Linked DNA regions of Homo sapiens: all the other regions are linked to region 1. The links are contacts of gene promoters, found by promoter capture Hi-C in blood cells and fetal thymus (Javierre and others, 2016). All regions are on one chromosome and are shown on one strand. Each heading gives the region's core, a stretch centred on a gene start or on the middle of the fragment in contact. The rest is flanking DNA. Distances are from core to core; before and after follow the strand shown.

Region 1 (4,096 bases), core at 939-3,438:
TCTTACTGTTTTGAAATGCAACAATTTTCAAATTATCTTTAGAGTCTGAGATAATTAATTCCTTTCTATTGGAATTATTCTGTTTAAGCAAGTAAAGTGCTTGATTTACTTCCTTAAAAAAACCTCTGATGTTATTCATTTTGCCTTATTGATGTTAATAATGGATTTAATGGTACCCCAGAATAATACTGGTATAGACACACAATTCAGTAGTGTCTTAAAGATTACATCATATATTTTTTTAAGTCCAAAGACTAACCATATATTTTGCAAAATTTAAGACTGTTAAAATGTAAAATATTTAAAGAAATAATATCCAGGCTGGGTGTGAGTGGCTCACGCCTGTAATCCCAGCACTTTGGGAGGCCAAGGCGGGCGGATCATGAGGTCAGGAGTTCCAAACCATCCTGGCCAACATGGTGAAACCCCGTCTGTACTAAAAATACAAAAAAAACGTGGTGGCACGTGCCTTTAATCCCAGCTACTCGGGAGGCTGAGGCAGGAGAATCGCTTGAATCAGCGAGTTGGGGGTTGCAGTGAGCCGAGATCGCGCCACTGCACTCGTCTGGCAACAGAGCAAGATTACATATCAAAAAAAAAAAAAAAAAAAAAAAAAAAAAACAAGAAAAGAAAAAAAAGAAGTAATATCCAAACTCTGAGCCTAAATTCGCAAAACTAAAATTCCAAAAATAAGCGAATGTGTAAAAAGTATGGAAAGAACAGACTTAAACAGGAAAGTATAAATATTCACAGGTGGTTTTTTTCCCCTTAGTTTTGCTAGAAAGTGTGCTACAGGTCTAAAGACTTTTCTCTACGGGAAGTGCTTGCTTAGAAAACCACACGTGAAAAGTATTTGAACAAGTCTATTCTTTCTTGATAAGTAATGAAGTGTAGAGATTTACTACAATTTTCCTACGTTTTAAACACTTAGTGTTTAGGGCAGTATTTCTGACATCCAGCAAAATGCTGGTTACATAGTAGGCACGCAAAAAACATTTTGTTAAATGAATTAAAATTAATGAATACATATTCAGATAAAAAAAATTCTCCTTTTGCAGTGCATACACCCGTGAAGCTGTCACCTACCTAGCAGCTAATCACGTTTCTCCAATTTCCTGGTGCCAGCATAATCTGTTCACACATCAAATAAGTGTGCCAAGCTAGTTTTTTTTCTTACCCAAACCTATTCCTTCTTGTTTCCTATTTATCAGAATGCAACCACAATCCTCCTACTCACCCGTTCCTCATTTTATTTGACAAATGCTTCCTTTCCCGCCTGTACAGACTGACACTCACTGACGATATTCTGCTTCTACCCATGTTTCCCACAATTGGTCTCAATTTCTGCTGCCACAGCCTCCACTACCTTTTGCTTGGACCAGTGAATACCCTCTGATTTTCCGTTGTCAGTCGCTTCTCATCAATCTATTCTTAATCTTGTTGCTTCGTTGCACCTCTACTCCCTCACCTTCCACCAAACAACCCAGTTAGCGTAGAGATTAGGAGAAGAGATTCTGGCTCTGAGCTTAACATAGTGATTGATCAAGAATTTAACCTCTGGAGCCAAACTGCCTGGCTTTGTCTGCCATTCGAGGACTTTTCCCAACCTCATTTCTCACTTTGTAGTCAACCCAAAACACCTCCCTCCATCTCCCACCTAGCTTGTGTTTCTCACTTAACTTTTAAAGTCCAGCTCACATGTCACTTTACTCACTTCCCAGAATTGTAATCTTCGTTTCGAACTGCTCTCGCACGGCAGCTATACTTCTCAGTACCTGCTTTTGTACCATTATGTGCGTTTTTTCTCTTTTTATAAAAAATCTCTTTCAGGGAACGCATAGTTCTTGAGGTCAGGATATTATTGTTTTATTTTTATATCTCCAGTAAGTCACAGTGTGACTTGCACTGTGGTTGCTCGATAAATGTTAGGTGAATGACATCAATTTACAGAAATAAATCCAACTCTGAGCGTCTCCCCTTGAGGACCGTGTTTTGTTCATCTGCACGCTCTCCAGGTCCTGCACTGCGCCCAGGACCAAGAAGACGCTGGACCCTTACTAGGAGAACCGAGGCAAGAGCCGGCTGGAGCCGCGGGGAACCCGCTCGCCCCGCCCACCCGCCTAGCGCCGGTGAGCCTGCGGCTCCCGCGAAGCGCGGCCCCGCCCCCTCGGCGCCAGGGCGCACGCGCGGAGCTGGAGCCGGCGCGGAGGAGCGGGCGGCCGCGGCTGTGCCCTCTCCTACTCCTCACCGCGCGAGCGCGGGGAACCAGTAGCCGCGGCTGCTTCGGTTGCCGCGGTCGGTGGTCGTTATGGATTCTCCATGGGACGAGTTGGCTCTGGCCTTCTCCCGCACGTCCATGTTTCCCTTTTTTGACATCGCGCACTATCTAGTGTCAGTGATGGCGGTGAAACGTCAGCCGGGTGAGTGCGGGGCGCCGCGGGCCGGACCCCTCAGAGTGCTCCTGACGGCGAGGACCGTCTAAGTCGGGTGGGTCGGGTGGGTCGGGTGGGCGGCTGAGTGGCCGCTAGCCCAGACAGTTCGATGGTAGAGTTGGAGGGGCGCCAAGGGCCGGTTGGTCTGACTTACTGAGTGCAGATGGGGAAACAGCGTGGGGGAGGACGGAGGCTCTAGTACTCCTCAAAGGAGGCGTGACCTGGGGTCCGCGAGGCCGTAGCCTGGGCGAGCAGGGCCGACCTTGCCAACCGCCCGCAGAAGTCCCAGGACTGACAGAAGCTGCCGCAGCGTTTCGGAACCACAGATATCCGCGCCAGCCCAGGGCTTGGGCGGCCTCCTCGCGGTACCGCCACTCGCTCGCAGTGTCGCCACTCGCTCGCAGTGTCGCCACTCGCTCGCAGTGTTTGAAAGTCATGTGAGGAGACAGCAGGTTTCTGACTCAGTCTCTTGGAGTAATAGATGGTTGCGGACTACTCTCCAGTTATGAAAGTTGTACAAGCACTGAAACAAAAAGCCTCCTGTAGCCAGACCAGGATTCCCCTTCACGCAGTGTCCTAACACCCTGCCTAGCATGTGAGAAGCGAGTGCGTTCCCCTTTTCACAGTCACGACGGACACTGTACAAGCAAGAGTTACCTGGCGTAGTTTCACTATCTGCAGAATGGGGATATAGTCTTGAAACAGCATTTTGAGTTCTTTTAGCAATGCGATCAAGGGACAGTAGTTGTATTTTATTGGATTTTACACCAGGGTGCGTTTGCTCTAATACTGCTTTACTTTTGTAGTTATTCTACTGTGCTTTTAGTTGTATGGACCTCTTCTTTCTTTGAGGTCAGACATTTCTTTGCCTACTTTCTTTGTGTTCTTGCTGTCTTTCATCTGCCTTGCCCTACGGATAGTTGATGAGTGAGGTCTGGAGGATGATGCTGTATCTTTCTTATGGACTACTTACTGGTTTTAAAAAATCCTTAGACCTCAGAAATATTTTTCATTTATGTTGAAGTTTGTAGCTCAGTTTAAATCGTTGGTACAAATTTTGACCTGGATGAGGATGGTATTACTGCATTAAAGTAGAACACATTATCTGCATAAGATATTATTTCTTTGATTTGAAAAAAGTAAGTTTTGTTGCTACTACATGTTCAGAATTTGATTAAAAAAATTTTTTTTTGTATAGGCTGAATCAGATGTTCACATTGTGGTCCAGGGACCCATGGGATTCTCTGACACTGCCAGTTTAAAATTACTTTCGTAATAATATGCAGATGTTATCTTTTTCACTCTCATTTTTTCAGAAGTGTACAGTGGAGTTTTCCAGAGGCTACCTGAGTTGTGATACTGTAACAGAAGGAAGTAGATATGAGAATCTAACAGTTTTCTATTTGAAGCCAGACATTTGTTAGAATGTACACAGTGTGATTCTTCTCACTAAATGTTTTTTGTTTTGGAAAAGTTATTTTTCATAAAGAATACATTATCATTATTATTATTATTATTTTTGAGACGGAGTCTCTCTGTCGCCCAGGCTGAAGTGCAGTGGCGCGATCTCGGCTCAGTGCTGCAACCTGTGCCTCCTGGGTTTAAGCGATTCTCCTGCCTCAGCCTCCGGAGTAGCTGGGAGGCGCCTGCCACCAAGTTCGGCT
Region 2 (4,096 bases), core at 1,130-3,629, 950 kb before region 1:
ATTGAAAAGGGAGAAACAAAATTGTCATTATTGCCTAAAAATAAGATTATCTCTGTAGGAAGTCAGAAAAAAATCCATTAGAAAATCTTAAAATGTAAACTACTAAAAGGCTTTAGCAAGGCTGCCAACCACAAGATCAACTCAATAGTATTTTCTGCAGGAAACACAACTGGTTAGAGAATATACTTTGAAGTGCATCTCATGACATCACAAAAACTATAAAATGCCAATGAATAAAAACTGCATAAGGAATTTTTGAGGAAAAATATAAATCGTCATTAAAGCACACAGAAAAACCTCCCAAAAACTGGGGACACAAATTTTGTTCATGTTAGGAAATTCAAGAATAAATATATGAATTTATTCAGAATTTCTCTGTAAATCTAATATAATTTCCATCAAAATGATACTGAGATTTTTTTTAGTTTCTCAAACTTATCCAAAAATTCATACTGAATAGCAAAGACAAAGAATAGCCAAGACAATGTTATAATAAGAAATGTATATTTACTATACAAAATGTCAAGATGGATAATAAAGCTACAGTAATTCAAATTGCTTAGTACTGATACAGGTAAAGACAAATTAATCAATGGAACAGATTAGAAGGATCCAGAAATAGCCTAGGCATCTGTGGAAGTTTATATCCCAAGTGAATGGTCTTTGATTTATAATGGCATTACAAATCGGTAGGGAACAAATGAACTATTTAATAAACTGTTCTTTGGTAATGGACTACTAATATTGAAAAAAAGATCAAATTAAATCTACACCTCATACTGTGACTAAAATAAACTTGAGAGAGATTAAATACCTAAAGGGCAAAAGCAAAACTGTAAAAATATCTACAGGAAAATATACAAGAATATCATCATGCACAAGGAAAAAGAAAGTATACCTTAAATAGGGGGAAAAGCACAAAAACATGAGACCAATAATTTAAATTTAGAAACACCTATATGGCAAAATACTCTTAGAAAGTTTAAATAATAGCTACAAATGGGAGAACATATCAGTAAAACATACATCCAAAAAAAAGATTAGTCTGGAAGTTTTTGTTTTGTTTGTTTTGAGATGGAGTCTTGCTCTGTCGCCCAGGCTGGAGTGCAGTGGCACAATCTCTGCTCACTGCAACCTCTGCCGCCCAGGGTTCAAGCGATTCTCCTGCCTCAGCCTCCCAAGTAGCTGGGATTACAGGCATGTGCCACCATGCCCAGCTAATTTTTTTGTATTTTTAGTAGAGACAGGGTTTCAGCATCTTGGCCAGGCTGGTCTTGACCTCCTGACCTCATGATCCACCTGTCTCGGCCTCCCATCACTTTTGGGTGATGGGATTACAGGCATGAGCCACCACGCCCGGCCGGAATATATATATATATTTTTTAAAGCATTCAAACCAAGCCAGGCATGGTTGTGCACCTCTAATCCCAGCCACACCTTGCGAGGCTGAGGGGACAGGATTGCAACATTCAAATCAATATGAAAAAGATGAACAACAAAATAAAAAATTGGGCCAAGAATATAAACAGGGACCTCAACAAAAGAAAAACAACATGGCCTATAAAATTATGAAAAGATTCTCAATTCACAAGAAATCAGAGCAATATAAATGAAATCAATGAAACATTTTTCATCCATAAGATATGCAAATATTAAAGTCTTACAAGAATTGCAAGAATGTGCAGGAAGAGGAAATACGATTCACTGCCTGGGAGCATAAATGGCTATGGTGAACCAAAAATTGTAAAGTTGACTCATTAATTCCACTTACAGGGATGTGCCTAAGGACATATCTACAAAATTACTCATTGAAGCATTATTTATAAACCTGGGAATATTTAAGTATCAAAAGAGAAAGAGGAACAAAGTTACAATATGCTCAAATATTGGATTGTAAGAGAGCAATTAAAATGAGCCAACCAGCTCTAAATGGCTTATTTTGTTACCTTTGGCAAACCACCTAACTTCTTTAAGCTTCCTCTTTGCTGTGTGTTTTAGTCTAAAATGTAAATATCAGCTTTACAGAGTGAAATGAAAGTAAGAAAGGACTTAAGTAAAAGGTATACTACATAACAGCATGTAAGAAATATCAGAAATAATAAAATCTGATGACCCCTTGTCGGTAAATAGGCATCACTGACATTCTCTGAGAAAAAAAGGGATGAGAACCGAACAAGTGATCTGAGATTAAGTAAATATTTCTTAAAACCTTTAAAAAATGAAAGGGCAGCCAAGTAGGTATGAGAACTAACCAAAGAGGGTTCAGTTCTCAATAAACAGGTAATTATAAAGGAGACTTTAGTAATATAAATTAACAAATATGCTTCATTCCAAAAACAAAGAAGAGAAAACAAACAAAAAACAACAAAGAGGCAAAGGACCAAATGTTTTTGTTTGTTTTTGAAACTCTCACCCAGGCTGGAGTGCAGTGGTGCATACTTGGGCCACTGCAACCTCCACCTCCTGGGTTCAAGCACTTCTCCTGCTTCAGCCTCCCAAGTAGCTGGGATTACAGGTGCCTGCCACCACACCTGGCTAATTTTTGTATTTTTAGTGGAGACACAAGGTTTCACCATGTTGGCCAGGCTAGTCTTGAACTCCTGACCTCAAGTGATCTGCCAGTCTGCCTCCCAAAGTGCTGGGATTACAGGCGTGAGCCACAGCACCTGGCAAGACCAACTGATTTTTAATAAAAAATAATATGAAACAGGACTTATACTGAAGTACCCTCTAAAGTTATGACTTTTATTAACTTTCTTCCCAGTTTTTATTTTGTGCTAAGTGGAAGCTTCAGATGACTCCAAGGGAGTATGAAAATTGGGAAACTTTTTTTTTTTTTTTTTTTGAGACGGAGTCTCGCTCTGTCGCCCAGGCTGGAGTACAGTGGCCTCATCTCGGCTCATTGCAAGCTCCGCCTCCCGGGTGCACGCCATTCTCCTGCCTCAGCCTCCGGAGTAGCTGGGACTACAGGCACCTGCCACCATGCCCGGCTAATTTTTTGTATTTTTAGTAGAGACGGGGTTTCACCGTGTTAGCCAGGATGGTCTCGATCTCCTAACCTCGTGATCCGCCTGTCTCGGCCTCCCAAGGTGCTGGGATTAAAGGCGTGAGCCACCGCGCCCGGCGGGAAATGTATTTTTTTAATACTCAGTATCTTTATATGAGAAGAAAATAATTTTGGATATGAAGGCAACTTCTAATAGCACTATTAAGCTATCATGAAAAGACAACTTAGAATGTTTTTCAGAGGGAATATTAATCTGAGAAGTTCTAATTTCCCATAAACTATTTCTGTTAACCTTCAAAAGCGATAGTGAGGCATTTGAACTTAGTTCAGAAAGAATGTGTCGAAAATCCTAGGCAGTATCGTGAAACACCTAATAAAGACCAAAAGAGGCAATAGGCCCCTTTTGGTTGGACACAGCCTACTTGCCCCTTGCATTAAAGTTCTAGCTCTCAATACAACATTGAGAATAAATAAAATACAACAAACTTAAAGATGCTATAAAAACAATCAATGAGAGTCAAGTAAATCTAACTCAGATTAGAAAGTTAATCAATTACCCAGCTAGTAGGTACCTGGGACAACTTGTGGAGGTAAAGAAAACACTGGCGAGCATCGAATAATGAGTGTTCATTTGGAAGGGGAACTTAATGAAAAAAAATATGTACTAACAAAGTGTGTAAGTGCTTAAAGCTAGAAGATATCTCGACTTAAACACCTAGTAAAAAAAAAAACGAGCCATATTTAATAAGAAAAATCTGAAACAAATAGCAAAAGGTTCAGAAATATTTGTCTAATAAAATTTCTCCCCGACTCCAGTTGTGAGGCACAGGGATTATTCAGAGCGAAAGATTTGCAAAGCCTATTTTGGGAAATAATTGTATTCACTGATATCAGGATTTAAAATGTCATTAGCACTAAAATTCATTTTCCAATGGAAAACGTAAAAGTCAATTTTTATATCTAAAAAGAGGTAATGGATATATAAACATGTTTATGTGTTTTAGAAATAAAAATACTTCATTAATAGAAAAAAATTAAATACATTTCTAGTATACTTAAATATTTAGCTATTCACAAGTCTTTACTGCT
Region 3 (4,096 bases), core at 612-3,111, 930 kb before region 1:
TATATTTACAGCTATGTTATTTTTACATTTCTATGTTATTTTATATTTTTATTTTACACTGCTATTACATATAGCAAAGATAGTAAATTATGAATTAGCCATCTGAGGGAAATTGGAAAAGCAGAAAGTATAGTAACCCCTCATTTATCTAGCTCCCAGGGATTCAAAGGACAGATGAGTTTCCTACTAAGGCAAAGAAGACCCAACACTGGAGGTAAAAACTTATCACGGAAGTTAGAGGCATTGGCTCTGAGTTTTGTCTAAGAGTCTTCCATCTCAATGTTTATTTGGAAAGTTTTCACTCAGGAAATTTAAGCATCTAGAGTTTACATGTACAACTGCTGTCCTCCTACCCAGTTGGGCCAGCACTGGATACACCTCTCCTGCTTTTGCATGAGCCTGACCTTTAAAAAAAAAAAAAAACATGCAAGAACATCATCAAGTAGATTGTTCCCTTTGCCCACTTCTTGTAATTCCCACCATCCTTCAGCTAATACTTATTTGTTATGAGAGGTGTAAAAATGCATCTTCACACTCATCAGATCAGATGGGCAATAATAAGAAATTGGTCAGGAAAACCTCATACACTGCTATTAAGAATATACATTTATAGAACAGTTTGGCACGATTTAATAAAGATGAATATATACATAACTTATGACCCAGCAATTCCATTCCTAATTATATACTCTAGAGTAGTGGTTTGTAACCTCTAGTACACAAATCCTGAAGGATAGAATTCAGAGTCTGATAACTTGGATAGGTAAAAGTTCCATCTTTATTGGCACCAACTTCTAAGCATTTCCTTTGTTTGTGAAGGTAGGCAACAAACCACAATATTATTAGCAGGACCTGCAACTTTTTAGTCAGTAAAAATCACAGATACTGTCAAATTCTATTTATAGTTGTTGCAAATACAGAAAATTTATTTTACCTTCATCACTACTTCAAAATTATTATACCTCTTACACCTACCATTAGATATTGTTATTTAATATCTTATAAAGAATAGGTCTATTTCTTTATCAAGAATTTGCTTTTAGCAGTCCTAAGCAAAAAGAACAAAGCTAGAGGCATCACACTACCAGCCTTCAAAATATACTATAAGCTATAGTAACCAAAACAACATGGTACTGGGATAGAAACAGAAACAGACCAATGGAACAGAATATATAACCCAGAAATTAATCCATACATCTACAGCCAACTGGTTTTTGACAAAGGTGCCAAGAACATACACTGGGGAAAAGACAGTCTCTTCAATAAATAGTGCCAGGAAAACTGGATATCAATATGCAGAAGAGTGAAACTAGACCCCCACCTCTCACTCTATACAAAAATTCAGTTCAATGGGTCAAAGAGCTAAGTGTAAGACCTGAAACTAAAAGTACTAGAAGAAAATATAAGGGAAATGCTTCCGGACATTGTCTGGGAAAAAGTTTTATGAATAAGATTTCAAAAGCACAGACAACAAAAGCAAAAATAGATTATGTCAAACTAAAAAGCTTCTGCACAGCAAATGAAAAAATCAACAGAGTGAAAAAACCACCTATAGAATGGGAAAAAATAATTGCAAACTATTCATCTGACAGGGATTCATATCCAGAATATACAAGAAACTCAAACATCTCACCAGCAATAAAAACCAAACAAATCAATTTAAGAATGGGCAAATGATCTGAACAGACATTTCTCCAAAGGAGACATACAAATAGCTCACAAATACATGAAAAATGTTCAACATCACTCATCATCAGGGAAGTGAGGTATTATCTCACCCCAGTTAGGCTATTATCAAAAAGTCAAAAAACAAAGCTGATGAGGATGCAGAGAAAAGGAAAATCGTATACACTGTTGGGAATGTAAACTCTTAGAACTACTATGGAGAACACTATGGAGTTTCCTCAAGAAACTACAAATAACCCACTACTGAGCATTATCCAAAGGAAAAGAAATCAGTATATCAGAAAGACATCTTCCCTCCCCCATGTTTATTGCAGCACTGTTCACAATAGCCAAGATACAGAATCAGCCTAGGTGTCCAGCAAGATTAATGGATAAAGAAAGTATGTTATATATACACAATGGAATACTATTCAGCAGTAAAAAGGAATGAAATCCTGTCCTTCACAGCAACATGGCTGGAACTGGTGGATATTATGTTAAGTGAAATATGCCAACAAGAGAAAGTTGCACACCACATGTTCTCATTAATGTATAAGCTTTAAAAAAAGTTGATTTCAGAAATAAAAAGTATAACAGGATTCTAGAGGATGGGAAAGATTAGGAGGAAGACAAGGATGGGAGAGATTTGTTAAACAAAATTATAGCTAGATAGGAGGAATAAGTTCTAGTGCTCTATACCACTTCAGGATAACTATAGTTAATAATATATAGTTTCAAATTGCTAGGAGGATATTGAATGTTCTCAACACAAATGATAAGCCCCCGGGGGAGTGGCTTCTGTGAGACCTAAATCCTCATCTGCCACAGAAGGAAGGCAACACATACTCTCCATAACTGAAAATGCAAGAAATAGCAGAAAATGACTATTATTTAAAAATACGGGCCAGGCGCAGTGGCTCGTGCCTGTAATCCCAGCACTTAGGGAGGCTGAGCCGAGAGGATCACCTGAGGTCAGGAGTTCAAGACCAGCCTGCCCAACATGGTGAAACGCCGTCTCTACTAAAAATAGAAAAATTAGCCAGGTGTCGTGGCGTGCGCCTGTAATTCCAGCTACTCAGGAGGCTGAGGCAGGAGAATCTCTTGAAACCGGGAGGCGGAGGTTGCAGTGAGCCAAGATCATGCCACTGCACCCCAGCCTGAGCGACAGAGCAAGACTCTGTCTCAAAAAAATAAAAAACATACGGAAACAGGTATTAGAAGAACAGCTTAAAATGTTGAAGGTGGTTAGTCTGGGGACCAGTACTCTGGGACTGGGAGGACTAGACCAGAGGTCGGCTGTTTTGCTCTTAAGGCTTACAGAACGATCTAGTTTCAAACTATCTATGTTTAACTTCGACTTTTTCCTATCAGGCTCGGTGCTGCTATTCCACTGAGCTCATGGAAAATTAAATCTTTATTAGGAGCCTTCCAAGATCACAGTGGGGTGGCAATGGGGACAGATAATGCAGAAAAGCGAAGGCTCACTGGTCTACAAATACACGTCTATCACAACCTGTAAAAGTTAACCCTGTCCCAGCCTGGCCAATATGGTGAAACTCCGTCTCTACTAAAAAATACAAAAATTAGCGGGGCGTGGTGGCGGGCGCCTGTAGTCCCAGCTACTGGGGAGGCTGAAGCAGGAGAATGGCGTGAACCCGGGAGGCGGAGCTTGCAGTGAGGCGACATCGCGCCAGTGCACTCCAGCCTGGGCGACAGAGCAAGACTACGTCTCAAACAAAGAAACAAGTTAACCCTGTCAACATCTCGACTTTAAATGCAAAGCACTGCACATGCACACGCTGAACACCTCCCCTTCCTTCTCCAGGGGCAACACAAGCACAACCGCCGCACATTTACGAATCTACACAACTGCGCATCGGAGCGAATGAGGTCAGGGCCCAGAAAGGTGGGGCAGGAACGATCCCAGCCTTCAGCTAATTCTGTCACCTCTAACGTCTGGGGCAAGAACGTTTCAGGAAACCAAGGGGGACCGAGGCTCAGCGCCGAAGAGAAAGACGCCAACTGCGGGACCTGTCGCGCCTCCCGCGCCGGGGTGGAGCTGACCCCGCCGAGTCCCGCCCCTGCCTGAGTTCGCCAGTGGTCCAGGAGCCGCTTTTTTCCACTCGGGAAGACTTCAGAGAAGTCTCACAAAGGACTCGGCTGGCTGCTTTTCTCAGTGCCGAAGCCGCGCCATGCTCGTTCTCAGAAGCGGCCTGACCAAGGCGCTTGCCTCACGGACGCTCGCGCCTCAGGTACTGGCCGCGGGGGCGCGCCCGAGCCCTGGCCGGAGGGGAGGGGAGGGGCGGGGGGTATTTCTGAAGCGTGCGAGCCACGCTCAGGCGCTCCCAGACCTGGGGCCCCGCGCCGCCGCCGAAGTTCTAACGCGGTCTCTGGAGCCGTCTGGCGCGCAAGGAGGAGGCTACAGGCCGGG
Region 4 (4,096 bases), core at 746-3,245, 910 kb before region 1:
GATGCTCAGGGGGCATCTTGGCTCACTTGAAGCCAAGATTTTTCTGCACACAAAGTTCAGATCTGTGCCACAGGAAAAGGACTGCTCACGACACTGTCACAGCCATTCCTGAGGTCACAAATAGAGACAGCCTCTTGTACTTCCTCAAAAGGACTGTTTGACAGGGATTCTTCAAGTAGCAAAATAAGCAGACATCTCTTTCTGAAACTGATTCTTAATGAGCTATGAAAAATACATTTACATTTATCAGCACTGCTCATATGTTGTCTGCACAGCACTTATTACAGGAAAAAAGGAAGGAATCACCGATATTAGTATCATTTCTGTTTCCATATCTACTTCGCCTTCCTGCTCACCATTGCCACCACCCCCAGCACCTTCCCAGTATAACTGCTACATTGTGTCCTTATATTTTTGGTTGAATAAACAAAAGGACACTGAAGGCTGCCTTTGTAGCTTCCCCTATACCAAGTGAACATTTATTAAATAAGCTCAGCTACAGAGCATTTTCAGAAATCTCAGTGCAGCTTCATAATCATTAAGCAGAATATTTATCTAAAAACCTCTAACACTTAATACCAGTTACTCAGTATCTTAACCAACATGAAAATACAAAACAACCTTTTATTTTCAAGTAGTCCCCTCAGTTCTCTTTTATGATTAAGGGAACATTTGAATCTTTTCTAAAGTTTTTCCTTTTGATCCAAATCACTTCCCCTCTACTTTTCTAATGGCTTTATAACCCTTCAACAGTAGGTGGTGCCACAAATGCACAAAAGTAAATTTCTGTAGACCAACAGAACTGTCACAGCTTTATTTTGTGACTCATTATATTACAACATAGAAATATGCATTTTAATACTTCATATAAAGTTATTGACATACAAAATTTTTTTTCTTTTTTCCTTTTAATGAAAATGATTTAACTTAGAAATCTGTTGTGAAACTTTTGTCTAGTTTTGCAATTCTCAGATATTCCAGTGCAAAAATAGATCCCATTACAGACAGCGTAAAGTGCTTGGAATGAGGGCCAATGATGAACAAAGAGCACAAAAACAGCTTCATCTTAGGGTATAAGAAGGGATAATAGCATACCTAAATCCTTATGGAAATAGAAACATTCTAAGGGGGATGCAACAATTTTGAAAAGAATTAGAGCAATATTTCTACAGTATTACATTATTACTAGTAGATAATAACAAGGGTACAAATTAATGTCTCAATATCAAAGTGGTTCAGTATTACATGACACATGGCTCTTTGGAAAATATTTTACCTGATATATACAACCACAAGAAGAAAACACAGACAAATGGCTTTAGTCAATGATTACTATACAGTGAATGAATGATGTGCAACATTTAATAGTCACAAAGCATTTGCTTTCAGTACAGATAATGAAATACAGTAGTGTGAGGTTTGGTTGTTTTTTAACAATGAATTGTGCTGGGCATTTATGTATAGAGGGCTTATTATTTTCTTCTGTATTTCTCATATTCACAGTTGTTAATAAGTTTTCTGAGGTGTCCCAAAGATGCAAAAGCAGAAATTTTTGAACACGTATTTTGAGAATTTCTGAAACTCACATAGGTACATTCCACAGGGAATATACAGAAATTTTGCTTGATTGAGTATAGAGTTGGTAAAAATTTCTACCACAATTAGGTTTACACAGGAAAATGTAAAAAATTACTATTTTAAAAGGTAACACAGTATTAATGAAGATGTATAACTATAGATTGTTTCTAGCTTCAGAAGAGGTCCTTTCAATCTGTATTAAAATGTTGTGTTTTCTTCAAAATAGTTCACAGTGCCTTTTGATTTTTTAAAATATGGCCTTGAAATCAGAGGAACCGAAGTAAGGAGTTGCTCATAGATTTACTATAATGAAGAATTAGAATACGATTTTAGTAAAATGAGGAAACCATAACTTTGATTTTGAAAAATATTAAATGAGGAGAAATTATTCTATAAATTCTGTATTTTTGAAGATACTGTAAAATGCAACGATGCCATATCACTAGTTATTGGAAATATGCCTTCATTACTTATATTTAAAATCAATATTGACTTTAACTTCTAAAACAATCATTTTTTTCTTTTTCAGCAGTGGGTTATATAATATTCTGTAAATTTAAAAAATATAGAAAGATTAATTTGAAATCTGAAGTCTTACACCTTTAGCGTTAATATTCAAATTCTGGAAAAAGTGGAAGAAGTTAGTAATGATATTGAAAGATCACTTGAACTTCCCCAAACAATAGTTCTCTCATATTTTTCTTTTCTCTCAAGACAGTTAACAGTAAGTATTAGTGAAACAGTATTTTTACAAATGTTTACTGACTAGAAAAATAAGACTGGGTTAGAAAACTCTGAAAAATGCTCCATATGGAAGTATTTGTTGTTTTTATATTTTTCTTGACTAGTGATTGAAGAGATGAAAAATTTGAGACTGTCAGATTTAATGGGGTATCCAATATCTGCAAAGCCAATTATTTGAAGGTACTAAATGCCATAAACACAAGTTGTGTTTTTCAGCAAGTTTTCAAGCTAGCTGTTTTCCCTGTTGAAGAATTCATTGTTTAGACTTGTGACCCTTATACTTTCTTGGCTTTTGCATTGTTGCAATTAAAAAAAAAAAAAAAAAGGCTGCCCAGTATTGTTACAGTGGGCTCCTACAACCACAAGACAACCTATATTTGTAAACCAGTGAGCTGAATAACATGGCACAGGAAGTGTACTGAGACTTAATATCTCTCTAGTCTTATACGTACGTACATACTCTTTCAGCTACAGCATACACTCAAAAAATATTTGATTGATGAAGTGAGATTAAGAGTATCCTAAATGATCTGAAAGAAACTCAAATATAATGTCATGAGATCCTGACCATCACATTGCTTTCTAGGCACTAGTCATGACTGATATGCAAACTTACATAAGAAAATAAAAATAGTGGGGCAGTGGCCATACTCCTCTATACCACAGGGTTCTACAAAGAGGCCATTCTAAGGATTCAGAAGTCACTGATAGAACTTAAAATTCCAAATAACATTAAAAAGTACAAACATTTTTGTCAAAATACAACTCCATCTTTTCATTTTCTAGATTAATTCAAAAAGCCAGAAATAATACACTTGTGTCAGATAAACATCTTGAGATGCAGTGTACCATGTTAGCAGACAGTCAGGACAAATGGGCACAGGCTTCCCTAGGTTTGAACGCACAATCTCTTTAATCCCATGCCCTGGCTTCAGCAGCTTGCAGCCCCAGCAGTTTGGCTGTTGATTCTTTGCCTCTTACCAGGATCTAAGTATATTTAAGAGTCTCATAAGGATGACCCTGTAGACCCATGGCTCGAAGCATAGGACAATATAACAATGGAACCAAGTTTCCCGTGCCTGGAGACACCCACATTTTTGTTGCATGTTACTGCCACCAGAACAGCTTATCAGAGGGAATCAAAGCAGGATGTTAGCCACGCATGGCACCATTCTGTCAACTGATATTCAATGTTGATAGACTCTGAGCAGAGCAGCTTTCACAAAAGTGAGCATGACACACCATGGTGCTTCAAACTTTCTGAAAAACTTGGCACTAATAACTCTGGCACACTCATTGCCAGCAATGGATGTGTCACCGGGAAACCAGTCTCCTGGGCATGGCATGGCTTAGTGAATGAGGATGTGCATTACCTTTTGATTTTGATCAATAATCGCTGGCCATGATTACTTGATGAATTATTGTTGCAACCCCAATGAGAATACACAGGAACAAAAAAAAAAAAAAAAGTGTGAGTTCAAACCCATATGTCCATTGGGTTCCATAATAGAGTTTCACATAGGTATAGGTAAAAAACTAAATTCAAGTCTTTCACTTGAGAGCCATACAAGACATAGGCTACAAAGGCACTGCCCCTGTAATGGAATTTTGTTTTCATTGCATTGAATTGCATTGCATTGAATAGTATCAGTACAGTATCCAGTTTACTTCTTCCCACATCAACTTCTGGCTCTTTTCTCCACAACACTTCACATGGTGCAAAGGAAAGTCTAGTTCCTCTTTACTTTCAGCCACCCCGTATGAACAGGATTCT
Region 5 (4,096 bases), core at 845-3,344, 830 kb before region 1:
GAGGAATTTCACCAGAGCTCTCAGAACACCTAGAGACATATTTGTTCTGGAACTATATAAAACACTCTGATGACCAAACTGCTCAGGCTCACCAGTATTTTTTGGTTAAGAATGAATGGGTATTCTCATAGAGTGCTTCTCTGAACTATTGATTCCTAGGCTGAAAAAACTTCGTCGGAATTTTTCTTTGCAATGTTATTACTAAGTAAGCTAAATAGTGTGGTCTCATCTAATTCCAGGGCCTTCCAACTGTGACAGCCCACAATGTCATCTTTATGATGGGTTTTTAAACATAAATAGATATCCATCTTCCCATCAATGGTTTCAAGACTTTTTTTTTTTAAATATGAAGAACTCTGTTTTCAAATGAGCTCTTGCTTAGTATTATAATAGTAAAAACATGAAAAAGCAGGTCTTCTCTGATTGAAACAAGCACAAAAAACTTTTGGCTTAAACTCAGCCACACCCAGCTTATTCTTCCCATTCACCCTTTGGGAGATGGCCCAAAAGTCTGAAAGAACACTAAGAACACTTAGAATACCACTGAACTAAATTATATCACAAACTCCCAGCCAGCCGTACTTTTCTACAAAACAAAGTCATGCTGTCCAAGGAAAAGCCTCACATTCCGAAAGCATTAGTGCTTGAAGTTTCTCCAGTGAGCAAGTCTACTCACCAGGATTGGCTTCAGGATGTCCATGTTGGAACGAAGTACTCGCTCTGCTGCAGCCAGTTTCTCCCTTGGTAGGCCACAAAGCTCAGAAACTTCTTGGTCACCAAGTTGAATCATCTCTTCTGATTTTGATCCATTGCACAGACTTGTCAAATGTAACTGGTAGCCTTGCAAAAATACCTGGAAGCATTTCATGCAAAGAGAGACAAGCACAAGAGGATTATGAAGATTGGAAGCTGGGTCCTTGAAGTCTTTTGGAGAACTTCATATCAATACAGCTTTGAAGATCTTAAAACAGGTTCCATTGCAACAGTCCAATGCATCAGGTCTCTTTACTGAAACTCAGAATGTATCAAAGCACAAGGCACAATGACAGGACACTTAAAACCTGCAAGTTGCATTAACTCAGTATCTCCCACACTCTTGTCCCTCTTGCAAAGAAAAATCCAGAGTCCAACTCGTTTTCTTAAGAGTGGGACACATGATTTGGCAAACAGGAATCCAGAGTCTGAATTCCTGGAACCACTTTTATTAGATGAACAACATCCTCACTATTTTGCAATTTATGTTGTCTTTAAGTAGGACTGGGCTGAAATATGGGGAGAAAGCATTTATGCTATTTATCTGTAAGTGTAGATATTTAACTAAGACACAGAACTATGTTCTAACAATTTCAGAATTTGGAATTCTCCATTTTACTTGCCCTAGAGCAGAGTGCCAGAAAGCCAGGCCTCTTATCTCATTGATAGGCCAATTCTAAATCATTCTTATCTTTTCTTTATACCAAACCCACTAGAGAGCCTCTTCTTGGTCATATTTTACTTAATTGCCTTTCTGGACCTAAACTATTCTACTTCATACGTGGTCCAGTGGACCACAAGCTTTGAAAGAAGAGCCTGTTTATCCTGCTCACTTTGCATCCACAGTGCTGAAACATTATAGCCAGTATTTGTTGAAGGAATGAACAATGCAGACTCTTTATTACACCATTACTAACTGCCCTGTTTAAATTGGGGCAGGCTGATGTGCTTGTAGAACAACCTAAGGTGAGTGATGGACCAAAAGCCTCTCAAAACCCATGCAGCTTTTGAAATACTGCAGAACATTTGGCCTACCATGATTCCCATTAAGTTTTTGCTGACTGCCAGAGATACTCAAGCACACTTCAGTTCTACTCATTTCTTTAACTGGTCCTTGCTGCTAGGCTGTCAGCCTACAGTTAGTGTCTATGTTTAAGAATACTGACAACAGGCCGGGTGCAGTGGGTCATGTCTGTAATTCCAACACTTTGGGAGGCCAAGGCAGACGGATCACCTGAGGTCAGGAGTTCAAGACCAGTCTGGCCAACCAACATGGTGAAACCCCGTCTCTACTAAAAATACAACAATTAGCCAGGTGTGGTGGTGCATGCCTGTAATCCCAGCTACTCAGGAGGCTGAAGCAGAGAATCACTTGAACCTGGGAGGCAGAGGTTGTAGTGAGCTGAGATCACGCCACTGCACTCCAGCCTGGGTGACAGAGCGAGACTCCAACTCAAAAAAAAAAAAAAAAAAAGAATACTGACAACGGAGGGCCTTTGTTGATGTCATCTTCTGCCTCTGCCCAATCATGCTTTGTTCCCTTTCCTTTCCTTACACAAGTATTGATCCCAAGAATTTTTCAATAAATGTCTTGTATGCTCAAAAAAAAGAATACTGAAAATACAGAAACTCCAAGGACCATCCAAGGACCATCTCCATGCTTAGGATGCCCCTTATTTTAAACTGATTAGATGTGACAGATATGAAATTGGCAGGGGGCAATGGAAATTATGCTAAATGCAACTACTTTCAAAAGCCTGATGCCTTTGGCCCATCTCCTAACCACACAATTGGTAAACACAAGGCATATTTTCCTAGTTTCAGAAGGGCACGCAGTAAGCACATTTTTCTAATTTTAAAAATTCTAGATCATGTGAAGCAAAAAGCTTATTTTCAAGAATAAACATTTCCACTACTTCTGCTTCTTGTAAAGACAAGCTAGTATGCAGACACGAGATAGGGGAGGAAGCAGTTCCCCTTTCTGCCAGAGAATAAGCTCAAAAAGTGTCTCTGAAAAATCAATAACCATGCAAGCTGGGTCTGGTGCTACCCACTGCACAAGAGCTGTCTAATAATGATGCCAGAGGAAGTTTTCTATGATTCTAAAGTTAAAATTCAACATAAACACTAATATTATTTCCTGATTTTATAAAATTCTTTTTTTTTTTTTTTTTTTGAGATGGAGTCTCACTCTGTCAGCCAGGCTGGAGTGCAATGGCGTGATATTGGCTCACTGCAACCTCCGCCTCCCAGGTTCAAACGATTCTCCTGTCTCAGCCTCACGAGTAGCTGGGACTACAGGAGCATGCCACCACGCTGAGCTAATTTTCATATTTTTAGTAGAGACAGGCTTTGCCATGTTGGCCAGGATGGTCTCGAACTCCTGACCTCAAGTGATTTTCCCGCCTTGGCCTCCCAAAGTGCTGGGATTATAGACGTGGGATTACAGACCTTTGAAGTGATCTCGTCCATCCCACCTGAGCTTTGTGACACTAGTCCGTTCATTTCTGTTTCCCCAGTGCCATCTCACAGAGCTAAAATTGGAGAGATTTAAAGCCTTATTCCCACAAGCTGCAGGGACTGATCTCCTATTTAATGCAAAGCAAGCAACAGTTCTCAACTCAGTGCCACTGCGTCCAGCCCTTATTTTATAAAATTCTTAAAAGTCTCCAAATACACCCTTGTCTAAAGTCTCCTGTCCTCAATTTTTTAGACAGAGCTCCTCCAGATCAATAACCCTTAACCACGGTTATTGCCTCAGAACTGTGAATATTTTTTAAGTTTAACTCAACTTAAAATGTATCCCTTGTAGGAGGAAATCATCACAAATGCCAAGTGATAAGCCAGAAATCAATTTTATTTTAACCAGCTGGCCCATGACGCCAGGTTGCATATTCCACTCCTGGATGGTTTGGCAATTCCTGCCTGAATAGGGAAGTAAAATTAAGTGAAGTTGTATTCAAACTACCTCCCTCCCCTTCACCACCATTACAAGGACAAGGGTTTATTCATTTCTTTCCAGTAGCTGCACAACGTAATTGCCATCAGCCCTACTGAGGAAGCTGGAGGCATCAGCTTACCTTGTGGAGAATGACATCAGCCCTCAGCATCTTGTCCACAGTAGACTTTGGGAGAGAGAGGTTGTGATACAGGAACCCAGAGAAGGTTTCATTGTCCACCAGGAAATCTTGAAGCTTCAAGTCTATTGAGAAATAGTGTTTTATTTTTATTTAGTAAGTAACTCAAAAAAAAAAAAAAAGTGGGCACAATGGGACAGTGGAGAAACGTTATCATAATATTGATGATCAACAGTTGCCTGGCTAAACACACACAGGAATGAGAT
Region 6 (4,096 bases), core at 1,195-3,694, 770 kb before region 1:
GGAAGCACTTGGGAAACAGGCTGACAATGGAAACTTTGTATTTGAAAAATATTGTAATATCTGTAGAGGTTCTACTCAGGAATACTTTCCATGCTTCCATACTTTCTCTGATTTAGGAGAAAGTTTCTCAAGAGAATGATACTCTCAACAGAAACGGAAAGTTTCTCAACAGAAAGCCTCCATTATTTTTGTGGTAGGTATGAGAAGAATAGGTTGAAATAAAAGGGGAGATGAAAACTTAAGGACTTTAAGTTTTGTTTGAAAAGAAGATCATAATTTAAGTCTGGGTTCTAAACTACGGCCGTTAAAAAAAAAAGAAAAAAAAATCAAGAAAATTCCACTCTTTAACTTGGGGGAAATTTTTGTGAGGTTCTCTTCGTGGGAAGCAGGGATTCGGCCATGGAGGGCAAGTGACTTGCTGATTTCAGTACCCAGAAGGTTTTTTTAAATATGAAATTTGTCCACTATGAGATGAATGTGTATATACTACCCATTCTCTTCTTGAAGTGTCAATGAAAAGTCGGATTTTAAAAGCTAATGGTATCAGTGCTGCAAAGGCAGGCCAATTACTGCCAGTGCCAGACAACTTTTTTCTTTGTTTATTTTTAATCTTATTTCTTTGCTTCTTTTTGATAAAAGATATACCTAAAGAGGCACCTACACATAACCCTGGCACCGTCCGCCGCCCCAAGAACCTTCCTGCTTTACCAATGGCCTGGGAGTTGGCAAACACGCTAACAAAAAAAAAAACCAAAAAAACAAAAAAAAAAAAACAAAACGGGCTTTCGCCTCAACCTCATAGTTCCTCCCCGTCTGCAACCACCGGTCTTCACCGGATTCACAGTCGGAACCGCGAGCAAAGACACCTAGTAGAGCCGGCCGATTCCTAGGTCCTCCGGCCAGGAGGCGCTGCGGGCCAGTCTCCGGGGGCCACCGCAGCCCGCGCGCCCAGCACCCCCACCCTCACGGCAGAGCCCAGCCCAGCCCCGCGGCGGAGCTCCGAGTTCTGCGCCGCCCGCCGGGGTTACTCCCGGTCATTCCACGGCACCACCTCGGCCCAGCTTCCCCATCTGCGCCCAGGCAGAAGCTGCCCCGAGAGACCAGCAGCAACGGTCTGGAAGATGGGGCTGCAGGGAACGTGGGAGAGGGAGGATTGGGCACCCCACCTCCGGGTCTCCGCAGGCTCTCCTAAGTCTTGTTTTTAAAAGAAACAAAACTCGGCCGCGCGCGGTGGCTCACGCCTATAATCCCAGCACTTGGGGAGGCCGAGGCCGGTGGATCACCTGAGGTCGAGGGTTCGAGACCAGCCTGGCCAACAAGTTGAAACCCCGTCTCTACTAAAAATACAAAAATTAGCTGGATGTGGTGACGCGCCTGTAATCCCAGCTACTCAGGAGGCTGAGGCAGGAGAATCGCTTGAACCCGGGAGGCGGAGGTTGCAGTGAGCGGAGATCGTTCCATTGCACTCCAGCCTGGGCGACAGACCGAGACTTAAAGGAAAGAAAAAAAAGAAAAAGAAAAGGAAACAAAACTCGTCCGCGCTCTGCGCCAGGGACACCAGCTCAGCTGAGCGCACGGAGACTGTAGGCAGGACCTCCCTACCCCTCAGGTCAAACAAAGACCCAAGGCCTCTAGTGAGCAATAGCACCACGGACCGTTTGGGACACCTCCAACTCGAGTTCCCGGATTCACAGTCCGGGACTGTGCCGCTCCAGTCCCGGGGAGCATATAGCCAATTCCCAGGTCAGAACAGACCAGCTTCTTAAGAACCGAGTGAAGACTCAGTGCTGGCATTTGTCTCCGTAGGTACTGGCCGACCTGCAACCAGAAGGGTTTCTAGCCAGCTCAGGGCCCTCCGAACAAAGCAGCGCTCGGTGCCGGACCTGCAGCTCTCCCCACCCGGCAGCAGCGCCCTCAGCACGCCCGGGAACCCCCGACCCCTCTGAGCCCGGGGTACTGCGCCCGGGTCTCCACGCCCAGAGATGCTCCCCGGTCTCCACCGTCGGGCAAGCCCCAAGCGCAGCAGCGCAGAGTCCTGGGGTCACCAGAGCTCGTACTAGGACATCGTCTCCCCATTTAACACCGCCTCCGGTCCCATCTGAGTTGCAAGTGGTGGGGATGTGGGGCTCCGGATCAAAGTCCCCGAAACCGAGCACTTCCCGAAGCCTCCTTGGCCTCGAAACAAAACAATAACGCCCAAGTAAGTCACTGGAGAGCCTCTTACCTGTTTTCCACTTTTGTGTTTGCGTCTCTTTCTCCTACCCCTTGACAAGCCTTCCGGAGAAGGGGAGAAAACAGAACCGGGGAAAAAACAAGGAGCAAAGCGCCCTGAGAACCGGCTCTGTTGGTGCGCGGAGCTCCCCGCCCTGCCCTGCCGCAGCCCGGGAGAGAAGGGTCGGCTCGGCTCTGCGGGTCCCGGCCCCACTCACTCTCGCTCGCAATTACGGGGTTTTTGCCGGGACTAGTTCCTTTTATAGATTCGGCTGCACCGAGCGCAGAGGTTACTATCGGTCAAAGCCTGTGCTCTCCCTCCTCCCCGCCCCGTTCCCGGCCTCTGTTTATGTAGTTCAGTCACTCAGCAGAAAGCACGTGGAGCCGGGGCCCGCCCCTTAAACGGGCGACGTTCAGCCGCCCACGACACATCTAGGGAGTTGGGGGGAGGTGGGTGGGGTGGGGGTGGAGGGTACAGCAGGTGTCTTAGGGTCCGCGGTCTGCGTCCCCTTCCCCCGCCCGGGCCCGCCGGCCTAAGACGCGCGGGAAGCGCTGGGCTCGGGGCTGCGCCGCAGACTCTCTAGTCCACGTTCCCGGCAGCCAAGGGCACCAGTGGAATTTGCTTCCTCTAAATCCTGCTTTCCGCAATTTTTTTTTCCTTTGTTAGTTTCCTCAGCCGGAGGGAGGGATTGGGGGAGAGAGAGCTCTAGGCTGAATCTCCCTCAGGACGCCAATCATTTTGTCTTGTCTTTTGTTTCCTTTCAAAGGCCTAGGCTGGGGTGAGGGGAAGGCGGACAGTCCTCTGGGTAATGGGCTGCTTTTGTTTTCCCCCCACAAACCTGGACTTTGATTTTTGATAGGCGACCTACTGCCTTGGAGATTCCCAGCCTGAGCTCCCCAGGTCCCTCAGAGGACCCGAGAGGAACATCTTACTGCTTCTCTTCATAAATTGAGAGGAAGGAGGCCACAAAAACAAAAAAAGAAACAAACAAACAAAAACACAGAACAATATGGACCAGCCCCCTTTTAATTTCATTATATTGATCAGCCTCCCTGTGATAAAAACACAGGACTTGTATTTAGTTTGTATACATTTGTGAAGTGCAGCCAGAGAATTGCAGTCGTGTAAAATTATGTAGCCACTCCAGACCTCCAACTTATCTGTTTGCCTTTGGCTGTAGGGGAGCAAAACTACCCAAAACACTGGAGGGGCAAAAAAAAAGGCAAGAGTAGGAATGCAGGCCTACACACCATATGTCTAAATATTTAAGTCATCCATCAAGCCAACAAACTAAATGTCACCTTATTCTGGCCAAAACTCAGGTCAAACTGTGAAGAGTCTAAATATGAATCTGCCCTGAAGGGCAGATTCATAGAAGACTCAGGACAGACCCGTAGAAGAGGCCCAAGCAGGCCCTGGAAGTGCACGTGGAGGCCACAAGGTCTCCTACCTTGACAAAGATACCTTTGTAGCCACCTTGAAGGGCAGATTCACATTTAGACTCTTCACAGTTTGACCTGAGTTTTGGCCAGAATGAGGTGGCATGAGAGAGCTGCCCCAAGCCTACTTCTCTTCCCACCTCCAGCTCCATCATATTCCAGAACTCCCACCACCTGCATACAGACATTCAGCTGCACAAGCCCCCTCCATGCTACAGTCAACAGGATCTCCAGGCCACGGCTCAAGCCCAGGTACTCACATCAGTGGTTCTATCAACACTCAGGACAGACCCATAGAAGAGGCCCAAGCAGGCCCTGGAAGTGCATGTGGAGGCCACCAGGCAAGGAATTCTGGAGTCCCAGGTACTCATAACTCTGGGTGGCATGGCCCCTTTGCACCATGGACTGTTTGCCCTTAGAAAGGGATGGATCTGAGCTGGGCGCA
Region 7 (4,096 bases), core at 979-3,478, 730 kb before region 1:
CTGCCCTCCTGGAAAAGGCTTCGACCCTCTCTATTCCTGGACCACAGCCATTTGCCTATGGCTGTGGAAAGTACTCAGTAAATATTGGCTGGCTGGCTGGCTGGCTGGCTGGCTGCATAAAAGGATGGAGGAAAGGGAAGGAAGGAAGGAAGGTAGGAAGGAAGGAAAGGAAGGAAGAAAGGAAGGAACGAAGGAAGGAAAGGAGGGAGGGAGGGAGGGAAAATGGAAACAAGAAAAAAAGAAAAAGAAAAAAAGGAATAGTTCTTTTTGATACCATGTGGATAGAGTACTTGGAAATCAGAAATGACCAGGCTATGAAGCATCTAATTTCCCAGCTCTCTGGATAGGAGAATGAGCCCAAAGAAATAATTTTTGCCCACCCCAAGGGTTCCCACTATCCATATGGATAGTCAGCATTTGGTGATTAACGATATTTCACATCCCACCAACAAAAAGTAGAGAAAAAAATCAATCTCTCACATGGTCCTCTGGGAAGGTGGTGAGGCGTTGGTGCCTCTTACTGGCAGACTCCGCCCACCTCCATACTCACAGCTCCCTATATAGCCCTCATGCATATGGCTGCATGAGTCATCCTGACCCTTAGTAACCTTTGTTGCCTGATTTCCTGTTCTTTCAAATGAGAAAGCTCTACTACATCATTTCTCGGAGAGACCTAAGTCCTCACCTGCCTGGGAGTCTGAAACCTCTGCCCTGGAAAGCCATGCTAGCCAAAAATCAGCAGCCAGGGCTATACATTGATAAACTAACTAAAGTAACAAGGTTTAAGCGAGAAATTCACTCTTAAAACATCGCTCTTTGTTGGTAGAAATGGAGCCCCTCACATAAAAGTATGTTGATCATAGTTCTGTTAACTAAGAACTTTTTTTTTTTCTAAACTGCTGCTGTTTATTCCAGTGGTATGATAATAGAACTTGATCATGTTTATACAGGTCAATGTTTTTTGGCGTTACTTCATATGGGAGTAAGCCCCATAAAGTGAATTCAAGTGTGTGTGGGTGGATGTTATTAGCTGCTGACACTGCCTTGAAGATTTTCTGTTTGCTGCAGCTCTACACCATGGTGTAAAGATGGACCACTTTTCCCTTCTCCGGGTGTGAGGCAATTGAAATAGGCTGTATCTGGCTTTTTGCCTCACAGAGAATCTTGTGTGTAAACCAGCTGAGAAGGTGAAAAGTCAATTGCCCATGGCCAAAAGCTAAGCAGGCTTTCCTTAAAGACAGAGAAACTCTTTCCTACCACCTTCAGCCAAGGCATGAACGGGGTTATAGTCCTGGCCTCAAACAGTTCCAACAATTTAAAGGTTATAAAACGATTAGCAAAAACAGTATGGCCAAAGAGGAAGACTGAAAAGCTTATACAACTCTAGGCTCTATCAGGTAAAGATGGTGTCTTTTTTAAAACCTACTCATAGGCTGGGCGTGATGGCTCACGCCTGTAATCCTAGCACTTTGGGAGGCCAAGGTGGGCAGATTGCCTGAGCTCAGGAGTTCAAGACCAACCTGGGCAACACGTTGAAACCCCGTCCCTACTAAAAATACAAAAAATTAGCCGGGCGTGGAGGCATGCACCTGTAGTCCCAGCTACTCAGGAGGCTCAGGCAGGAGAATTGCTTGAACCTGGAAGGTGGAGGCTGCAGTGAGCCGAGATCACACCACTGCACTCCAGCCTGGGCGGCAGAGAGAGACTCGGTCTCAAATAAAATAAAATAAAATAAAGTAAAATAAAATAAAATAAAATAAAACCTACTCATTAGGTGCTCAGTAGAGTAGTGTGCAAATGTGGGTTCCTAATTAATAAGTCTTGTTTGCTGATAAATGGAAAGGCATTCTCATACACATTATTGAGAACCCAGGAGGACTTGTGATTCAAGGTATAAAGTCGAAGGTGGAAACCAGAAAACAAGTCCTATGTGTTCTTGTTACGAAAAAAAAAAAAGACACATTTTTCAATAGCCAATTATTATAGTGACAATGTGTTACTAAAATAATAAGAAAACAAGGGTTAAAACTTTTCAGCAGAACTGGATTTTCAGTTAAATAGCTTTAATATAGCAAAATACAATATGTTCTCTGCAGGTGGATCTCTTGCTGTTTCAATCCTTTAAAAAAGGTACAAAAAACATCTTTTCTAAAACTGAAAACTGATTGCAAGGGAGAGAAGAGACTCTCGTGTAAGAATTTGGCTCACCTGCCAACTCACTGGTATATATAATTCCAATAGATTAATCTGGCGTTTTGATTTGAAGACGCGAATGGAGAGATGTGTTTAGTGCTTACAATTGCACCTTCTCTCTGCATTCACCATAGACCTGTAGTAGAAAGCCATGCCCTCAGCCTGCACCTGCTCCACTCCTAGAGTAAGAATTTTTTGGCCAAATTTAGGACAGTTAGTGTCAGCTAACCATGTTGTCTCCACTAGTCCCACTGTGTTGCAGGAATGTGGAGACACAAAGCTGCGCAGATGGCTGTCAGCAAGATCCTACCTGCTTTAGTTCTCAGTGCCAAGGAGATCCTATAGTGAGTGATGGCTCATAGGATTGAATTATAAGATAAACTCAGAAAGTTATTTGAAAATGTTAAGTGTGGCTGGGTGCGGTGACTCACGCCTATAATCTCGGCACTTTGGGAGGCTGAGGCAGGCAGATCACCTGAGGTTGAGAGTTCGAGACCAGCCTGAGCAACATGGAGAAACCCCGTCTCTACTAAAAATTCAAAATTAGCCAGGCGTGGTGGCACAATGCCTGTAATCCCAGTTACTCGGGAGGCTGAGTAGGAGCAGGAGAATTGCTTGAACCCAGGAGGTGGAGGTTGCAGTGAGCTGAGATAGTGCCATTGTACTCCAGCCTGGGCAACAAGAGAGAAACTCCATCTTAAAAAAAAAAGAAAGAAAGAAAATGTAAGTGTAACTTCAGTTCCCCAAACTGGTCCGTCTTTTCCTTCCTTTTTTTTCTTTTTGATGGACAATTTCAAGAAATAAAGAAATAAAATGTTACAGACATGTTTGAAGTTCCTTCCAATTTTATTTCCTTCCTTTCCCCTGAATTTGGTGTTTATTAATCCCATACAAGCTTTTTATATTTTCTACATAAAAGTGTCCATAATCAATAACTAGTATTCTTTTGTATGTTCCAAACTTTATATGTGGTATCATACTGACACTGTAGACATCATTCTGTAACTTGCTCTTGCACAAATTATGTTTCTGAGATTTATACATGTTGATAATGCAGTTACTCATTTTCTTTATAATATTCATTTTCTTTGTAATTTCATTTGCAAGTAGCCGGGCGCAGTGGCTCACACCTGTAATCCCTACACTTTGGGAGGCCGAGGCGGGTGGATCACTTGAGGTCAGGAGTTCAAGACCAGCCTGGCCAACATGGTGAAACCCCATCTCTACTAAAAATACAAAAAATTAGCCGGGCATGATGGCAGACGCCTGTAATCCCAGCTACTCGGGAGGCTGAGGCAGGAAAATTGCTTGAACCTGGGAGGTGGAGGTTGCAGTGAGCTGAGATCATGCCACTGCACTGCAGCCTGGGCCACAGAGTGAGACTCCATCTCAAAAAACAAAATAAAATAAGTAATTTCATTTGCTTTGTAATATTCCAGTGAATGAAGTAATCAACTATCCATTCTTCTCTTAAGGGACATTTTATATTGTTTTCTATTTTTGGCTCTCATCATCATGAATGTCATGAATATTTTTGACATGTCCTTTTATGCATATATACAAGAGCTTCTCTAGAATGTATGCCCAGAGTGAACTTGCTTTGTAATCTTGACTTTTATGATATTGCCAAACAGAATCAAGTTACATTAACATCAATAGTAGATGAGATTTTCTGTGGCTCAACATCTTTAACATTACATATATAAAAATTTCTCGGCCGGGCGCGGTGGCTCACGCCTGTAATCCCAGCACTTTGGGAGGCCGAGGCGGGCGGATCACGAGGTCAGGAGATCGAGACCATCCCGGCTAAAACGGTGAAACCCCGTCTCTACTAAAAATACAAAAAATTAGCCGGGCGTAGTGGCGGGCGCCTGTAGTCCCAGCTACTTGGGAGGCTGAGGCA

What was found. The method cuts DNA at HindIII sites, captures the fragments that hold promoters and counts their contacts. A CHiCAGO score of 5 or more calls a contact.
Region 2: a fragment that was not itself captured here is called in contact with the fragment with the promoter of TMEM38B in region 1 in 6 of 17 cell types (monocytes, naive CD8 T cells, total CD8 T cells and 3 more); the score reaches 10.2 in monocytes.
Region 3: a fragment that was not itself captured here is called in contact with the fragment with the promoter of TMEM38B in region 1 in 5 of 17 cell types (total B cells, activated CD4 T cells, naive CD4 T cells and 2 more); the score reaches 10.3 in total B cells.
Region 4: a fragment that was not itself captured here is called in contact with the fragment with the promoter of TMEM38B in region 1 in 1 of 17 cell types (monocytes); the score reaches 8.4 in monocytes.
Region 5: a fragment that was not itself captured here is called in contact with the fragment with the promoter of TMEM38B in region 1 in 1 of 17 cell types (total B cells); the score reaches 6.0 in total B cells.
Region 6: the fragment with the promoter of ABCA1 here is called in contact with the fragment with the promoter of TMEM38B in region 1 in 2 of 17 cell types (naive CD4 T cells and monocytes); the score reaches 6.8 in naive CD4 T cells.
Region 7: a fragment that was not itself captured here is called in contact with the fragment with the promoter of TMEM38B in region 1 in 2 of 17 cell types (naive CD8 T cells and activated CD4 T cells); the score reaches 5.0 in naive CD8 T cells.

The regions. Positions count from the first base shown.
Region 1 is chr9:105,692,353-105,696,448 of GRCh38, forward strand. It overlaps TMEM38B (transmembrane protein 38B), which reads left to right and starts at 2,189. Exons shown (of 6, transcript NM_018112.3): 1 at 2,189-2,420. The coding sequence starts at 2,309. RefSeq lists a silencer at 2,023-2,292. The HindIII fragment of the contact is 6,405 bases long and covers 1-4,096 here.
Region 2 is chr9:104,739,064-104,743,159 of GRCh38, forward strand. The region is part of intron 1 of LOC107987105 (a long non-coding RNA gene); the gene reads right to left. Among named protein-coding and RNA genes, the nearest start is that of NIPSNAP3A, 6.6 kb to the right of the region's middle. The HindIII fragment of the contact is 814 bases long and covers 1,973-2,786 here.
Region 3 is chr9:104,760,384-104,764,479 of GRCh38, forward strand. It overlaps NIPSNAP3B (nipsnap homolog 3B), which reads left to right and starts at 3,746. Exons shown (of 6, transcript NM_018376.4): 1 at 3,746-3,917. The coding sequence starts at 3,858. RefSeq lists silencers at 3,475-3,674, 3,872-4,061. The HindIII fragment of the contact is 717 bases long and covers 1,504-2,220 here.
Region 4 is chr9:104,780,219-104,784,314 of GRCh38, forward strand. It overlaps ABCA1 (ATP binding cassette subfamily A member 1), which reads right to left. Exons shown (of 50, transcript NM_005502.4): 50 at 788-4,096. It also overlaps a transcript of NIPSNAP3B not described here. Among named protein-coding and RNA genes, the nearest start is that of NIPSNAP3B, 18 kb to the left of the region's middle. The HindIII fragment of the contact is 6,350 bases long and covers 1-4,096 here.
Region 5 is chr9:104,857,846-104,861,941 of GRCh38, forward strand. ABCA1 (ATP binding cassette subfamily A member 1) reads right to left here. Exons shown (of 50, transcript NM_005502.4): 6 at 3,834-3,955; 7 at 677-853. Among named protein-coding and RNA genes, the nearest start is that of ABCA1, 68 kb to the right of the region's middle. The HindIII fragment of the contact is 1,085 bases long and covers 1,553-2,637 here.
Region 6 is chr9:104,925,711-104,929,806 of GRCh38, forward strand. It overlaps ABCA1 (ATP binding cassette subfamily A member 1), which reads right to left and starts at 2,445. Exons shown (of 50, transcript NM_005502.4): 1 at 2,225-2,445. LOC105376196 (a long non-coding RNA gene) reads left to right here and starts at 1,079. Exons shown (of 3, transcript NR_188620.1): 1 at 1,079-2,200; 2 at 3,798-4,014. RefSeq lists silencers at 839-1,078, 2,415-2,604 and enhancers at 1,755-1,814, 2,135-2,214. The HindIII fragment of the contact is 9,744 bases long and covers 1-4,096 here.
Region 7 is chr9:104,960,841-104,964,936 of GRCh38, forward strand. No RefSeq gene overlaps it. Among named protein-coding and RNA genes, the nearest start is that of CT70, 29 kb to the right of the region's middle. The HindIII fragment of the contact is 1,716 bases long and covers 1,371-3,086 here.